Linked DNA regions of Homo sapiens: region 2 is linked to region 1. The links are contacts of gene promoters, found by promoter capture Hi-C in human tissues and cell types (Jung and others, 2019). All regions are on one chromosome and are shown on one strand. The core of a region is centred on a gene start or on the middle of the fragment in contact, and the rest is flanking DNA. Distances in the headings are between cores, read along the strand shown. Region 1 holds the start of HELT (helt bHLH transcription factor). Region 2 holds the start of CENPU (centromere protein U).

What was found. Contacts are between HindIII fragments. The study calls those that stand out against the background at their distance.
Region 2: a fragment that was not itself captured here is called in contact with the fragment with the promoter of HELT in region 1 in 1 of the 25 tissues and cell types used here (neural progenitor cells).

Annotation. Positions count from the first base shown.
Region 1 is chr4:185,015,960-185,021,302 of GRCh38, reverse strand. HELT (helt bHLH transcription factor) reads right to left here and starts at 2,813. Exons shown (of 4, transcript NM_001300781.2): 1 at 2,348-2,813; 2 at 1,812-1,916; 3 at 1,460-1,556; 4 at 350-1,030. The coding sequence starts at 2,374. The coding sequence ends at 531. RefSeq lists enhancers at 1-181, 182-1,109, 1,824-2,403, 2,404-2,982, 2,983-3,563. The HindIII fragment of the contact is 22,587 bases long and covers 1-5,343 here.
Region 2 is chr4:184,732,790-184,738,132 of GRCh38, reverse strand. It overlaps CENPU (centromere protein U), which reads left to right and starts at 4,037. Exons shown (of 13, transcript NM_024629.4): 1 at 4,037-4,117. The coding sequence starts at 4,071. RefSeq lists enhancers at 1,704-2,223, 4,461-4,580, 3,731-4,597 and a silencer at 4,031-4,090. The HindIII fragment of the contact is 8,312 bases long and covers 1-5,343 here.

The sequences.
Region 1 (5,343 bases), core at 1,564-4,063:
AGGACGGGCGCCCGGGTCGCAGCTGGCAACGGTCCGCCTAAGTCAGTTTGGGGCAGGTCCTTCAATTTGCATTTTCCTGAGAGCCAAGGGCAGTGTTCTTCGCCTCCCCTGTTTCTCTGAGGCTAATGCTCAAGATGGGGCGGGTGCAGGAAGCCGCGAATCCCGCCCTTAAGCGATGCCTAGAATATCTGCCTGAACCTCCATTTAACGTCCCCCTCCCTCAGACTCCACAGCGGGCCCCTCACCAAGTTACTGAGGGCTGTTACCTTGAACCCTGTCAGCCTTGCGCCCTGGGCACCGCGGAGGGGACGGGTGTGGATGAGCAGAAGGTAATACATAAATCCCTCTCTTTGGGTCTTTATCAGAAAACGTTTATTACCAGGGGGAGATCCTTCAGAAGACTCATTCGCTCTTTGCCTCCCCCAGCCCAGATTTTTGGGGTACAATATTTACACATTATGTGTACAATATATACAGCATTTCTCCTAAAAGCGCCCAAAGCGAGGAGAAATCTGGCGGGCGAGTGGGCGTCAGAGCACCGGGGGGTGCTGGGGCGTGTGCAGGTTAAGGGCGTTGGGGTGCGCGTGGCCGATCAGGTTGAGGTAATGCCGGTCCAGGCCCTGCACCGGTGTCAGGAAGGGGCTGTGCTGCTGCGCTGGGCTAGCGAGCGGCACTGGCGCGCTGGGCAGGTAGGGCAGCGCGGGGCTGCGGGCCGCGCCAGGCGGCCAGGGGAAAGGCCCGGCACCAGAGCCCTGCGGGAACACAGCGGCCTCGCCCGGGCTGTGACCAGCGAATTCGGGCCCCGCAGGGTGCAGCTGATAGGAGAAATCCGGCTCCGGGAGCGAACCCAGCGGCGGAAAGGCGGGCTCCGCGCCCAGGCGGGCCTTGGACTGCAAGAAGGCGAGGATGCGCGCGTACTTCGTGTCCTTGGTCTCCATCCGCTCCACCGTGGTGAGGTAATGCACCAGGTTCTTCATGCACTCGTGGTAGCCATAGTGGAAGTAGTTGGCAAACTCCGCTAGAAGTTCTGCTGGAGGAACGAGAAAGCCCGTAGGACGGACACACCCTGAGTGCCCCTTCCCCACGCGAGCCCAAAGCGGGTGCAGGGCACCTCCCACCACATTTTCTGGCCAAAGTTCCCATTTGAGGCCCGCCCTCTCCTCTGCGCAGTCTTAGAGACTGGCGAGGCACGCGCAAACGCCCTCTTTCCCTGAGAGCCTGACCCCACCCACCCCACCCGGGAGAAGGAGGTGGAACCAGCCTCCCTGGGAACCAGTTCTCCCTCGCCGCCTTGCTGTCGCCGAGCAGGGAGAGGCGCCTTCGCAGGACCCCTGCCCTCCTGGAGAGTGGAGCTCTAGTAGAGCTCTCGGGAACACTCAGTCACTCCCCTCCCAGCCCCAGGGTCTCTGGGTGGCGCAGGCGCCTGGCCCAGGCGTCCCATTCCCTAACCTGTGCCCACCTTTTTCCCTTCCCCGGGGAAAATCAGCGGAGTGCAGTGCTCTCAGGTACTGAACGGTCATCTCGAGGATCTCCGCCTTCTCCAGCTTCCCGGAACTCTGCAAAAGGAGGAAGGGCCCCTCGCAGCGGCCCAGCGCCTGCTGGTCGGGCACTGTGGCGCTGGAGAGGACCAGCGAGCGGACGCGGCTGCGGATCTGCGCCAGAGCCTCCTGAGGTTCGCCCTGCGCTCAGGCCCCCCGCCTGGGAGGGGCCCGCAAGTGAGGTCCTCTGTGTCCGCGGGCTCGGGCGTCTCCGCAGAGTGGCCGCAGAGGCCTCCCAACGCCTGGCACCCGGCTCCGGGTCGCCAACGTTACCTGCTTCGCCAAGGCCATGGGCACTGTCTTGCCCAGCTCGTTCAAGCAGCGGTTGATCCTGTCCCTCCTCCGCTTTTCTATCACTTTATGAGAAACGGGGGTTCTCTGCGAAGAGAGGGTTGTATGTTTAGGATGGCTTTGCCCGGGAAGTCGTCAAAGGCGCGGCTCTAGCAGCTGGGTGCAAGCCGCCTCTCCAGCCGCGCACACTGCTCAGATTCGCTCTAGGAAGGGACTCCTGGCCCGCCACGCTCGGGCCAGGTGAGCTCTGCCTTCTGACGCCCGCGCTGGCGCGCTCCCCTTCCAGCCACCCTACCCAGGCCTTTGGGGAGGTGGCCGCCAGCCTCCAGGCAGGACTTCTACCTGGTTGAGCACCCTCCTCTCTCTACCCCACCCCCTTCCCAAACCACTCGAGATTCCTCCACACTCAAAGTCCCGTGCGGGCACTTCCCTGCCATCGGTCCACCCAAGTGGCGGGTCGGTGAGTCAGATGCCTCCACCACCAGGGCGCAAGTGCCATTTGGGCTCAGCCGACTCACTTTGCGTTCCTTGAGCTTGTCTGACATCCTGGTCAGTACGCGCCCTCGGGAGAGGCGGTGGCGCGGGGCACCCGTCCACTTTTCCGCCTCGTGTGCCTCCTCGAGTGTCCCAGGTAGACTGCAGCCTCCCAACTCCGAGGGCTGCCTTATAAAGCGGTCATCTAGGGCTCCAGATGCATTCACGAGTTGAATTATTCCATAGGATTAGGGGAGCTGCGTTTGGAGGATGTATGCATTCAAGATCAGTTTTAAAGAAGTTAAGAAAAAAAAAAAATTAGCAGCCGAGGGGGGCGAGCTGGGGGCAGATCAGCTTTGTTAATCCACGTGGCCCTTCAAAGGACACGTGATCGGCCCAGGAATAACATTTGCATGGCAACAGCTCGGGCGGGAAAAGGAGGCGGTAAACTGGGGCCGGCGGGCGAGCAAGCGCCTGCAGCAGTCGCGGGCGCGGAGCGCAGGGGCGCAGCGGCCGCGGGCACCGGGGGGCGAGGACCCTCACAAAACAGTGTCGCCTCTTTTAGTCCCACCGCTGAGTCTCACATGATCGCCTGTTTACAAATCCCAGCAAGCCCGCCGTCCCAGCGCCGAGTGCGTTTTAAAGCCTGTCCAGAGTCATTAAAGTAATTAAGTAAGCCTTTAATAGGCTGTTCCGCCGGGTTCAAGGGAGAGCTCTTGGAGACGGAGGCGCCCCGTTTGTTCCCAGGCTTTTCTCACACGACTTGGTGACACGTCCTTCTCCCCCCTTTTTGTTTACACCGCTTTATTTGTCCGGACATCCCGGCAGGTGTGGGGCTGCGGCTGGCACACGAGGCTCCCGCCTCGCCTCGCCTCGCCCCTCCCGCCGCTGTTTGGCACGCGACGCTCCCCCCTACTCCCTGACCACGTCGCTGGCTTTCTTTTCTCCCCACCCCTCCTGCTCCCTCTTCGCGGGGGGAAGAGGCTCAATTTGTAGCCTATTATCCTATACGAAAATGTCCATTGAAAAGTATGAATAGTTTCATTGGGCTAAATTTTAATAATGCCAGAGGGTGGGGGAGGAGAGACTGGCGGGCGTGTGTGTGTGTTTGTGTGTGAAGGGGCGGGTGGGAGGATTGGGGGGCAACACGGAGAAGAGTGGGCCGAGAAGAAAAGGGGGAATGCAGCTGGCCCAGGCAAGCATTATGCAACGTCACCTGCGAGAGGGGGCGCCTACAGACCCCTATTCATTTGCCTAATTTTGGTCAATTTAACAAACTTCAGGAGAAATTATTGTGGCTTTGTCAGGGAGGGTGAAGCCTTCTGATCGAATTAACAGCATGTTTTGATCCGGTAAATGTCATTAGAAAGGGAGAAACAATCGCGCTTAGAGGGCTCTGAGTAATGCGCCCAAGTGGAGACGCCAAAGCGCACGGCTCACAAAGGGAGCAAGTAGCTGCCACAGGGAACTTTTGTACCCGCCCATCGCCCAAGTTTTGACACAAAAAGGCATTATTTCATACTTGAATACGTTTAATCCAACGATTGTCTATTTTCTGCAAACATATTTTCACAGCATTGTTAACTTTTTATGTCTCCCTTTCGCTGGCGTCTTTTCTTAACGTTTGGGGGCGGGAGAGCGCAGACACTTTGGGCATCAATATTTGTCACTGAAAAGGGCCCTGTGAAGTTTGGGAAGTTGATCTCTTTTTTATGGTTTTAGAAAGCGAAAATATCGGGGGGAGGAGGAGGGAGGGAAGGCACGAACAGAAACGAGGGAGGAAATTTGCTGGACGGGCCCAAGGGGAAGGAGGGGGGCGGCGGCGGCTGGGAACTCTCTTGGCCGCCTGCGCCTCTGAGGGCAACCTGGCCCCGCGGCCAGAGGCCACCTCCCCCAGGACGGGCCTCGCTCACACTTGCTGCCTCGGATCCTATACTCTGGGGGCTCTGAGCTTGTGGGGTGTGGGTGGGGGGTGAGCTTTCTTGCAGATTGAAACGATAAAAATGATTTTTGTTTTATGGCCCTTTCTAGAGCCACCGAACTCTCACCTCTCTAATCTTTTCCATCTGGGAACAGCTGAGACCGCTTCTCAGATTTTTCTTCTTTTCTGCCTGCCCCTAACCCTGCCTAAATTCTCTCTGTTCTGCAGGGAGATGGCAGGGCCCAGCGCCCCCCTTGGGGTCGTTAGACCTTGGCAGGGGTGGGTAGGCGGCGCTCTTCTAGCTGGTGGGACCTGGGAGCCTCAGGGCGCAGAGCCAGGCCTGGGGTGCCAGGCCTCGGGGAAGCCATCGGCCCACCTGCTGCGGCCTGGGAGATGTGAGGGCTCGGTCTGCACCTCGCACCCCTAGGGTGTCCCTCTCGGTCCTGCCTCTAGTCTCCTCACGATGTTTCCTTTCTGCTTCACGCCAGATTGGACACGATCCGCACCCTCCCAGGTTGCTCTGCCAGCCGCGAGTGCCCTCTCAGGGGTTGTCGATTTCAGGATATTCACTCGCACACAAAGAGATTAAACGCGAACCCTTATCATCCAAATTAACTAACGTGAATGGGTAAAAAGGAGCGCGCACACTTCGCACTCCCACTCCCATTTTTAAGCCAGCGGCCCGGGCGTTGATCCTCTTACTGCCGGTGTTAACCGCCAGCTGCAGGCACCTTCCACGGACCACATTTCATTCCATGCACACTGTTTAATTTCCCGGGTTTGGTCTCGGCGCTTGGCTCAAGGCTTGCCCAGGGCTAAAAGTACCCGCGTGCAGGTGAGGGGGCAAGGGAAGGCCGGTGAGTGGAGACTTGGGCTCAGGGGCGCAGCCTCGCCCGGTCCTTGCGCGGCTGCAGCACTACCTGCGAAACCTGGAACGCCCTCCGCTTCAGGATAGGGAAGGACGTATTTCCTTTCTCCCTTCTCGGTCCGAAGGCCTGGGTCACACACGCTGCCCCAGAGTGGGGCGCCTCAGGGCTGTCTTCTCTTTGCTTCTCCTCAGGGTGAAGATCAGGAGTTCCCTGATCCTGGCCTAGTTTCCACGCAACATAAGAGCAGAGT
Region 2 (5,343 bases), core at 1,639-4,138, 280 kb after region 1:
TTTATTAGCTTCAGGCCTTAAGGGATATTGCCTTTGTTAAGGAAAAGTGGTGGGATCTTTTAACCTGATTTGGGCTAGGCGGGCATTTTTTTGCCCTTCCAAATTGTCCTTCCAATGCCCAGACTTCAGGGTTGATTCTCTCCTCAAGTAGGGGACAACAAATGGGTAACTTTTTCCCCATATTCATGTAGATAATAGCTCCAGCCTTGGCTAATATATCCCTCCCTAATAAGGGTGTGGGACTTTCAGGCATAACAAGAAAGGCATGTGAAAAGAGCAAAGTCTCCCAATTACAACTGAAGAGGTGGGAGAAATACCTGGTTACAGGCTGTCCCAGGATTCCTTGGATGGTAACAGACCTTGAGGACAGTCGTCCAGGACAGGAGATTAACACTGAGAAGGCGGCGCCAGTGTCCAGGAGGAAGTCAATTTCCTGGCCCTCAATAGTTAAACGTACCCATGGCTCAGTGAGGGTGATGACATGTGCTGGTGCTTGCCCTGGGCACCCTTAGTCCTGTTGTTGGATCATCTGGTTAGGGGCTTCTGACCCAGGGAACCTTCGTCCTCTGGGGCAGTGCACCTTCCAGTGATTGCCTCGGCATAGCAGACATGGACGAGGGGGCAGCTTATTTCTCATTGGACAATCTTTTTTAAAGTGTCCTAGTAAACCACACTGATAACAAGCCCTACCAGGTGATTGGCCTGCTCCATTTTCTGTCCTCTCTGAACCACCAAGGTTTGTTTGTCTGAGGGCCATGACTAAGGCTGCAGCCTTTCTCTGATCTCGCTTTTCCTTTTGGGCCTGTTCCTCTTGGTCCCTATTATAGAACACCGAGGTTTCCAGGTTTAATAATGCCTCTAGATTTTGTTCAGGGCCCAGGGCTTGCTTTTGGAGCTTTCTCCTGATATCTGCAACTGATTGGGTAATAAACTTATCTTTTAGAATCAATTGACCCTCGAGTGATTCGGGTGACATGGGAGTGTATTTTCATAAGGCCTCCCATAGCCACTCAAGGAAGGCGGAAGGATTTTCTTCCTTTCCCTGAGTTATGGTGGACATCATTGAATAATTCATGGGCATTTTTCTAATTCTCCTTAGTCCTTCTAAAACACAGGTCAACAGATGTTTACAACTCCAGTCCCCATGATCTGAGTCAAGGTCCCAGTGGGGATCCATACTGGGGATGGCTTGCTGACTGGTAGGGAATTTGTCCCTTTCTTCGGCTGTCATTCTATCATTTACTTGACTAAGATACCAGGTATCTCCAAACTCTCAGGCTGCAGCTAAAGCCGCATTCTTTTCATTAAAGGCCAGGGTTTGATCTAACAGTAGCATGACATCTCTCCAAGCGAGGTCGAAGGTTTGCCCTAGACCCTGTAGGACATCTGTGTACCTATCAGGATCATCTGAAAACTTCCCCAGGTCTGCCTTGATCTGCTTTAAGTCAGAGAAGGAGAAGGGGACATGTACCCGGGTTGGGCCAAATTCCCCTCCCCCTACAGCTTGAAGGGGACATAGCCGATAACCTGGGGGTTTTTGTGGTCCTTTGGAGATTTCTTTGCTTATTTCCTTCTGGATAGGGGAGATTAGAGAGGATTATCATTAATAGGAAGGGGAGCTATAGGGAGGCTAGGATATGGGAGTAAGCTGAGAGGTCCTCTTGTGGGATGTAAATTGTAAGCTTTGCATAGTTGTGTATTTTCCCTCAATGAAAAGAAAGCTCGGACATAAGGTATTTCACTCCATTTGCCTTCCCTCTTACAGAAAAGGTCAAGCTGCAGGATACTATTATAATTTGTACTTCCCTCAGGTGGCCATTTTTCCCCATCAGAGAGAGAATATTGGTGCCAAGCTGCAGGGCAGACCACCTCTTTTACAGGGTTTATGGGTCAAATTGGTGCCAACGGCTTAGGATGCATTTCAAGGGTGAGCCTGTTGATGCCTGAGTGTTTCCCATCTGAAAGACAAAACCACCCGCGGTTTTGGTTTGTTTTGCTTGTCCCCCTGCCCAAGAACCCACAATGGTCCCTGGACCCTGCTGATCGGAATAGTTGCACTCACCGACGCAGCAGCAGAAACACTAGTTTTCCTCCCAGACCACATGGAGGACCAAGGAAGGTCGGATTTAGTGGCCCTTACCAACACATTCTCGAAAAACTGTTAAGGGTCCTAAGCATTCTCCTGTTAGTATTGGGACTTTATCCCTGTCCTATAAAGATGTTATGCCCCAAAAATGAAGTGGAGGGCCATACCCTGAGGGAGGGAAGGGATGTCCAAGGCTGGAAGAGTGACACCTTTTATCTTCACTTACATGAATAGGAAGGATACAATTTCTGAGGCTCCTCATAGCATACCTTCAGGAATAGCTTTTGTTAGGCCTGCTTGTCTGAGGAGGGATCCTAAAATTCCAGAAAAGATAGTCCCCCCCACCAAGATTGTGCCATTGCACTCCAGCCTGGGTGACAGAGCAAGACTCCATCTTGAAAAAAAAAAAAGAAATTAAAATAAAAAATATAAATAGGCCGGGCGCCGTGGCTCACGCCTGTCATCCCAGCACTTTGGGAGGCTGAGGTGGGCAGATCACGAGGTCAGGAGATCGAGACCTTCCTGACTAACACGGTGAAACCCCGTCTCTACTAAAAATACAAAAAAATTAGCCGGGCGTGGTGGCGGGCCCCTGTAGTCCCAGCTACTTCGGAGGTTGAGGCAGGAGAATGGCATGAACCCGGGAGGCAGAGCTTGCAGTGAGCCAAAATCAGGCCACTGCACTCCAGCCTGGTCGACAGAGCAAAACTCCAACTCAAAAAAAAAAAAAAAAAAAAAAAAAGAACTTACTCATGTAACCAAATAGCACCTGCACCCCAATAATTTATGGAAAAATAAAATAAATAAAAAATAAAAGCAATAGCTTTAGTAAGAAAGGGCACTTGCAGCATACCTACCAAATATCATATAAAGTTTAGAAACATACAATAATCAATACATTATTTGGGGCTATATCAAGGTAGAAAACCACAGGAATGATACACATAAAATCAGAAGAGTGGTTATTCTTTGGAGGAGGAGGATACCATTCAGAGGGGTACCCAAGAGTTATATATAAAAATGATCCATATCCCCATGTAGTGCTGGTTACACGGATGTTTGTTTTTATCTTTACATTACACGTTATATTCTTTCATATGCATGAAACGTAATATTTTTGTCGTAGTAAAATATACATAACAAAATTTAGCATTTTAACCGTTTTTAACTTTACAGTATTGTGGCATTAAGTACCTTCACCTTGTGCATCCATCCACCACTATTTCCAGAACGTTTTCATCATCCCAAACTGCTTTTGGTATCATATCCAAGAAATCATACCAAGTCCAATGTTATGAAGTTTTTGCTCTGTTTTCTTCTAAGAGTTTTAATTTTAGCCTTTATAGTTAGGTCTTTGATTCATTTTGCGTTAATTTTTATACGCGGTGTAAGGTAAGGGTTCAATTACATTCTTCTGCATTACACATTTTTAAACACAAACAAAATAAAAGAACAAAAGGAACCCTGTCCATTTACAAATGAAGGTATTGGGATAGCGGTAAAGTAACATGCTAAGCTCAGACAGCTGATAAAGGCAGCAGGGGCTGGAAGCCAAATCCTGTAGGCCTGGAAAGACGACTGCGGCCTCAGCGACAACAGCTGCGAACACGGGTCTCCACCCACCCTCTTACCTGCCCACGACTCAGGGACACTAGCTCCTCCCCTTTCCCCACCCCACAAGGGGCCGTCCCACGTGGCTCCCGGGCTTTCTGGCGCCGGAAAACTGGCGATGCGGGTGGGCGCGAAAGCCCGGAAAACTTTGGCATGTTTTGGACCGTAGGTAACTGGTTGTGCGGCATGGACTCCAGCTCCGTTGCGCTGTAATAACCAGACCCAGTTTTCCCTCACGCTCCAGGCCAGGGAGGAGCCCGGGGGCCGCTCAGGAAGTCCTGCGCACGCGCGCGTGCTCGGCCCGGATTGGCTGTTCGGAGCGGCGAGGGGCTTGGCGGGAGCTTCCAGTCGCTCGAGAGCGGAGAGCGGCACCATGGCCCCGCGGGGGCGGCGGCGGCCGCGGCCTCACAGGTCTGAGGGGTAAGTACTGCCGACCCTCGGGAGCGCGGGGCCGGAGACCAGCTTGAACTGCTTCCTCGCCTGCCGTGGTTTGCGCCTCCCGGCGCTGTTGGTGCTCCACTGTGGAGGTCGCCCGAGTGGCCAATCGCCCGGGTCCCCGGCTTCCTCCTCAGTCTAGTGGGGATAACAGTGATCCCACCTGCACGGGCCTGTCGGGGCCTAACACTGCCTGGCGGGTGGGAGAGACGTCAGCCAGTGTCGTGTCGTTTTGTGGGGAGGGGGAGTGCCGTCCAAAGTAGTGAGTCTCAAAGTGCTAGCTTGAAAGCAAAATATTCAGCAAATACGTATTGCCTGCGGTTTGCCAGACTTTGTTAGTGGAGTTTTATTCTCTGACTGGGAATCAGTTTTCTTATTTTGAAGACCCTGGTGTTTTCTTACTGCAAACCACAGACCGTAAACTGGAGCATAAATCCGGCTGGGGGACCGAGCTGCCGCTTGCGGTTCTCCAGGATGGCTCGAGCGGTTTTTGTTTACCAAAGAAAGCGAGCGTTTGGTCGGTTGCAAAACGCGCTCTAGAATGCTGGTCGCTGATTCGTTGGCGAATGGCCATCCAAGGCCCGGCCTGGATCTGGCGGGAAGGGTCTCGGCTTGCTGCAGACGGTGCACAAAGCCATACGCCAAGACGATCTGAAGAGAACAGGAGTTCCCCCGGGCCTGGGAAGGCTGCCTGGAGGAGGAGGTGCTGGTAGATGCGGGGTTAGGGTGGAAAAGCTGGAGCAGGACACCGCAGGTGGGTGGGGAAACCGAGACCAGACTTCTGTGGCCAGTGGAGGAGAATGAAGACTCCCCCAGTGCAAAAAAGGATTAGAAGAGAATGTCAGCCTTCAATGTCAGCTGAAAAGAGTTTATCTGAAAGGCTAGTGGTTTTTGTTGTCTTTTTTTATTTTTATCTTTTAACATTTTTGGGTTTGAGACTCATGAAATCTGTTCATGCCTCCTCCCAAAACACACTTACGCACATACAACAGAATTTTTTTTTTTTTTTTTTTTTGAGACGGAGTCTCACTCTGTGGCCCAGGCTGGAGTGCAGTGGCGCAATCTCCGCCTCCCAGGTTCAAGCGATTTTCCTGCCTCAGACTCCAGAGGAGCTGGGATTACAGGCGCTCGCCCCCACGTCCAGCTAATTTTTGTATTTTTAGTAAAGACGGGGTTTCACCATGTTGGCCAGGATGGTCTTGATTTCCTCA